Regions from separate parts of the Homo sapiens genome. Here region 1 is linked to region 2. Evidence: promoter capture Hi-C in human tissues and cell types (Jung and others, 2019). All regions are on one chromosome and are shown on one strand. The core of a region is centred on a gene start or on the middle of the fragment in contact, and the rest is flanking DNA. Distances in the headings are between cores, read along the strand shown.

Evidence for each region. The method cuts DNA at HindIII sites, captures the fragments that hold promoters and counts their contacts. A contact is called where the count stands out against the background at its distance.
Region 1: a fragment that was not itself captured here is called in contact with the fragment with the promoter of CEBPG in region 2 in 1 of the 25 tissues and cell types used here (aorta).

The regions. Positions count from the first base shown.
Region 1 is chr19:32,360,189-32,363,090 of GRCh38, forward strand. It overlaps ZNF507 (zinc finger protein 507), which reads left to right. Exons shown (of 7, transcript NM_001136156.2): 5 at 316-430. Among named protein-coding and RNA genes, the nearest start is that of ZNF507, 16 kb to the left of the region's middle. The HindIII fragment of the contact is 4,607 bases long and covers 1-2,902 here.
Region 2 is chr19:33,372,320-33,375,667 of GRCh38, forward strand. It overlaps CEBPG (CCAAT enhancer binding protein gamma), which reads left to right and starts at 1,390. Exons shown (of 2, transcript NM_001806.4): 1 at 1,390-1,576. RefSeq lists a silencer at 1,177-1,986. The HindIII fragment of the contact is 10,998 bases long and covers 1-3,348 here.

The DNA.
Region 1 (2,902 bases), core at 383-2,882, 1.0 Mb before region 2:
GTGTCTCTGATTAATTTAGCTCCTACATAGCCAGAAGCAAGTTCATTATGACTTAGAATATTGTACATGGTTATGCAGGAATCATCCCAACCTATCTGTGTTTATAGGTCAGATGATGTTCAGTTTATATCTGCTGATAGTGTATATGCAGGAAAACCTATAAAACCACTTCAGACTTGTTAAAACAGTGAGAAAGCCGTGATTGAAATATTAATACAACTGTGTGGTATAAATTTTCATTTACAATGGAATGTAAATGCTGTCATTTGAATCTTGTCAAAGCCTGCTACTAAAACTCTGAAATACCTTGTCTAGGGAATAAGTCTTCAGTCCAGAAACAATATAGATGTGATGTGTGTGATTATACAAGTACAACATATGTTGGTGTCAGAAACCACAGGCGAATCCATAACTCTGATAAGCCGTACAGGTAAGTGTTATGATTCTAGAATTTTAATGTTTGTATTAAAATATTTTATATTAAAGAAATAAAATGAAATAAAAATGTATAGCACTTACTGAAACACAGGTTAAGAAGTAAGAAATTTTCACTAATTGGTTTTATATTTTGTTGTTTTATATATTTACTTATTTATTTTTTGAGTCAGTGTCTTGCTGTATTGCCCAGGCTGGAGTGCAGTGGTATGATCACAGCTCACTGCAGCCTCGAACTCCTGGCCTCAAGGGATCCTCCCACATCAGCCTCCCAAAGTGCTGGGATTGCAGGCGTGAGCCACTGCACCTGGCTGGTATTATGTCTTGTTTGATTTGTTAAGATGTGAACTTTAAGCTTGAATCTTAGGACAGTAGGCATTTTGTCTAGTTGATACATAGGAAATTGTCTTTATCTGTCAATTTTATGTTTTCATTTCATATGGGTATAAATTTCATAGCAATTTTCAATGCCTTAGAGTTCATTTCAGTAATTTGGCAGTAAGGTACTCAGTATTCAGCAAAAGATCCTTAAAACTTAAAGGCAATAAAATTTTCTATGAAAGAGTCCATTTTTCAAAATTAAGCTAGTATGTGTAGAATAAGTCATTTAATTTCATTACTTGATTTTTCCCAAAAGCAAATTCAGATATATATTTCAGAAAATATAGGCATTCTCAGTGATAGTGCTAGGCAATGCGCATGAACTTTCACCCCCTTGTCAAAACTTAGCAGGTTTAACTCTCTCCCCAGATTCTGTAGATATGATACAAGTGAGTGTGGGAAAGTTATTGTATTAATCTCAATGAAAACCTGACAGATTGTGCCATAAAAGGTCATTGTTTAATCCCAAAGTGTGGTGATCTGTGTATGGTTTCGAATATTTAATATGTGCTTAATTTGCAAACCAGCAGACTTACTTATAATCACTCTTCAGAAAGTACATCTGTTTGCAGAGTCTTAAAACTCTGTGGAAGGTGTTTGACCTTGCCTCAGTCCTCCTCAGTGTCTTCCTTCCTTCCTTCTTTCCTTCCTTCCTTCTTTTCTTCCTTCCTTCCTTTCCTTCCTTCCTTTCCTTCCTTTCCTTCCTTCCTTTCCTTTCTTCCTTTCCTTCCTTTCCTTTCCTTCCTTTCCTTTTCTTCCCTCCCTCCCTCTCTCCCTCCCTCCTTCCTTCCTTTCCTTCCTTCGTTTCCTTCCTTCCTTTCCTTTCTTCCTTTCCTTTCTTCCTTTCCTTCCTTCCTTTCCTTCCTTTCCTTTCCCTCCCCTCCCTCCCTCCCTCCCTCCTTCCTTCCTTCCTTCCTTCCTTTTTTTCTTTGACAGAGTCTCGCTCTGTCATCACCCAGGCTGGAGTGCAGTGGAGTGATCTCACCTCACGGCAACCTCCGCCTCCCGGGTTCAAGTGATTCTCATGCCTCAGCCTCCCAAGTAGCTGGGACCACAGGCATGTGCCATGATTAGCTAATTAGAGACGGGGTTTCGCCAGGTCTTGAACTCCTGGCCTCAAGTGTCCGCCCACCTTGGCCTCCCAAAGTGCTGGGATTACATGGTTACACCATGTCCAATCAGTCTATTTAATAGGTGGGACTGAGTATATTTACATTCGTGATTTATACTGGGAAATGTTTAGGAGAATGTGATGGAAACAGGGAACACTAGTTTACCTGATAGGAGGAGAAAGCTTTGCCTTTATATTTTTGGTATCCTTGAATTTAGACATACCGTGCCAGATTCATGTGATTTAAGTAAGAAGAAAATAACATTTCTCCGGGTCCAGAATTAGATTGTTCTTTCATTCATGGAGAAATATTTATTGAGCAAATATTATGCTTCAGGGGCCGTGCTAGATTCTTGGACTACAGTCATAACAAAACAGACGTCATCTTTGCTGTCATGGAACTTGTAGACAAACAATAAGCAAGTAAACCCTCAAATACTTAGGAAAAAGGTTAGCGATTCTAGTTCTGTTGAAGGTTTTACATCTGCTTTATTAGATCAGTCTTGCAGCTTAAAGATTCATTTTGATAGCTGTCAGTGTCTCAGGGATGTTTTCTTGTGTTCTTAAAATATTCACAGATTCATAGGATTCATTGCAGTTGTCCTAGGGTCTTCCTACCAACGGGCAACATCCCGTGAGCATCCTCTTTGTGTAACATCAGAGAACTCTCAGTCTGTTATTTTCCAAATTTATTCACACTCCACTTTGTCACTGGGTTTGGTGTGGTTATGCCTTAGATACAGTTTTGTCATATCTCCCTCTTTGTACTTATTATCAGTTTTTCCTCATAAGTCTTATTTTCTAATGTCATGGCTCTCCTTTTAACTTTCTTTAAATACTCACCATCCTTTGCCTTCATGGGATTTCTGGTCGCAGAGCATTACGGATTAACATGTTCTATTCCAGGATGTTTCTAGGACTTTCTCCTCGTTGTCCTATACTGTGTGCTTTAAGCGGAGCTGGTAGCGTAGCCTT
Region 2 (3,348 bases), core at 140-2,639:
CGCAGAGTGCTGGGATTACAGACCTGAGCCACCGCGCCCAGCCCATTGTTCACCGTTGTGACCCCTTTTAATTTTTATTTATTGCTTTATCATCTTACTGATTCCTCGAAACAATCTTACGGGGCGAGCCGGTTCCATGGGCGCTGAAGAAACATTTCCTCTTTCAAAGCCTCAATTGTTTGAACGATACGCGTTGCTAAAGAGGAAGCAATTAAACCTATCAGGCGAGTTCTGCCCTCCGCCCAGCGAGCTGCTGCTTCCTGGTGTTAAAACGCTTTCGGGGCCAGGCGCGGTGGCTCACGCCTGTAATCCCAGCACTTTGGGAGGCCGAGGCGGGCGGATCACGAGGTCAGAAGATCGAGACCATCCCGGCTAAAACGGTGAAACCCCGTCTCTACTAAAAAAATACAAAAAATTAGCCGGGCGTAGTGGCGGGCGCCTGTAGTCCCAGCTACTTGGGAGGCTGAGGCAGGAGAATGGCGTGAACCCGGGAGGCGGAGCTTGCAGTGAGCCGAGATTGCGCCACTGCACTCCAGCCTGGGCGACAGAGCGAGACTCCGTCTCAAAAAAAAAAAAAAAAAAAACGCTTTCGGGTTCTCCTGGCGAGTTTTAAGTCACACTGGATCGCTGCTTATTTTCAGAGATCACCTCGCACCCATGCACCTGGAAGGCACCCAAAGAGAATCATTTTAAGAAATTCACTTCATCTCACCCTAACAACAAAGCACAGCCTGCAGCACATGGATTTCACCCATGTGACATCAATGCTAATCCTATGTGTGAAACATCTGGGTTCATTCGATTTTTTAAAAATTAGTAACTGAGATGGGGTCTCGCTATGTTGTCCAGGCTGGTTCTCCAACGCCTGGGCTCAAGCCATTCTCCCGCCTCGGCCTCCCTCGGCGCTGAGATTATAGGCGGGAGCCACCGCGTCAGCCTCCACTCTTTTTGCGGCGACAAAGCCCGCCCGCCTGCGGGGCGTTCCGTTCGCAGAAACTCTGTGAGGGACGCCGCGGGGGCTTCCAAGGGACGCGGCGAAACCAAAACAGTCGCCGGTGGTTCACAAAACCACCTCAGAAAATGCTTCCAAAGGCACGTCTGGCCTCCACAAGGTGACGGCTTTTCAGCCTCCGACTCGAACTTGAGTCGTCCACAGCACTAGGCCGCCGCCAGCCCGGGCGAGCTGCCTAGGGACCGCGGACGCCGCAGCAAGCAGCTCCCTGCTCCCGCCACACCCGCCGAGCCAGCCGCGCGGAACCCACTCCCCCACCGTGGGCCCGCCTCCCGCCGCCAGCCTGCCCACGATTGGTCGACTGGGCTGCCCGTCGCGAGAGAAGGCGGTGCCTCCGGCAGGCCGGCGCTCCCATTGGCCGGGATGGCGGCGGCGGCGCGCGCGGCCCCGGCGAGCAGGGGAAGCCGGTGGCCGCGGCTGCGGAACGGGCGGAGGCTGCCGGTTTCGTAACCGTCGCTCCTCCTCGCTGACTCGCGGGCTGTGAGGCCTGGGTCGGCTCGGGCCGCACCGCGCGGGGCCGCTCGGAGTGGAGGCCGCCTGGGGGCAGGCGGGCTAGAGGAGCAGGTAAGGAGGCTGCGGCGGGCGCCCTGAGAACGGGGAGGAGGAGGCCGCGGCGACGCCGGCCGCTCGACTGGGTGCGGGCCCGGCTCGGGGAAACCCAGCCCCGGCCCCAGACGGCCCGCTGGCCCGGGAAGGCCACGCGAGGCTGGAGGCGCGGGCGGCGGCGCCGCGCGGCGTCTGATGCAACCTGCCGGCAACACCCGGCGGGGACGCTGAGCTCATTCCTGGCCGCGGCCCAGCGCTGCGGCGCCGCCCGTCGACCCCCGCGCTGCCCGGGGCGCCCCTCGCGGCGGGCCGGGAGCGCGCGAACGGCCGGGGAATGCCCCCTGCGGAGCCCGGCCCCCTCTCGGTGAAACGGGCGCTGTGACCCGCCAGGCTCGCATTGGCCCCTGGGGATGAAGGGTGTTCCCAGAATAGCAGAAGGTGGACCGAGTCGAGCTTTAGAATCCTGATCTTCTAGAAGGGCTCAGCTTGCGGTGATCGAAAATCTGTTCAGAAGTTCAAAGACTGATCAATAAAATAGGGAAAGCAACTGGTTTTTAAATGCATGACTTTGCAGAGATAATATTTTGCTTCTTTGTGGAGCTGTTGGAATGTCCTGCACTTTACTGTTGAACGTAGTTTAGAAGAACACGCAACACCTACGGGTCGAATAGAGAAGAAATGAAGCACTTCGCAGGCATAGTTGGAGGGAGCGGAGCAGGGCCGACAGCCAGCGGAGGTGACCAGATGCGAAGGATGGAAATGCATGTGTCGCGGGGGGAGGAGAGTGTTTTCCAGGGCAGCTGGTGTGTTGCTTCTCTTCCGCAGGTTTACGTGTTGGGTTTTCCTCTTGTTTGAAGTTTATACTGTAATCTGGCATCCTGAAATGTATAAGATTTAGAAAGGTCTCAATGTTGATGGGTGACACCAAAATTGGTAGTTGTGTCAGAATTGACTGCTTATATGAATAGGTTGTCACTTAAGGCAGACTTCTCCCAAAGAAATGTGACTCCCAGAGAAAATTTTAAAAGAAAATCCTATAAGGGCTTGCTTTACGAAGACATTCTACACCTAGAAGCTCTTGATATTTAAGATGTGGTCATCTGTTAGCCCTTGAGTAGTATTTGGGATAAGCTGTTCATAAGGTCGATTCTGCTTCTGGAAAAAGTTGCTGTAAACAAGGCTAAATAATTACAGGGTACAAGGGAGCTGAAGCATATTTCAGCTTCTTGATTCCTGCTTTTGGTGGGCACACTTGGCTGGTTCAGTTATTTTTAATACCTGCTTTTAAAAAAAGTAGATGGAAACAAAACTTCATTGAGAATATCCTTTAAATTCTCAAGATCACATCATGTCTGTCTGCAAGGCTGTCTGATCTTGGAGAGATGGTTTCATCCCTGGGAAATTAAACACTATGTGCTGAGCCCCTGGTAAAGACAAATAGGACCTCGTGGGGCTGAATTTGGTCTCGTGGTCTAAGATTGCCTCACTTGGTCACAGTAATGGTAAATACAGGTAGCCACGATTCCAGCTGTATTGTGCGTTCTTGGGAGGGTTGGTTCCATGGGTTGTTATATTGATAGGTACACTGGCCTCCTGCGTTTGTGGCTTTCTAGCTCTATCAGTAAAAAAAAGACAAAAATGAGCATGACCTCCTAATGGATGTTCATTTACAAATAGTCTATTTGTTTTGTGTGTTGTAAATCACTTCAAAAGGATTGGGTTAGAAAGATGATGTTGATGTTCTTCTAATGCTCCAGTGACCCACTTCTGTACTCCCAGAAAGGGGACGT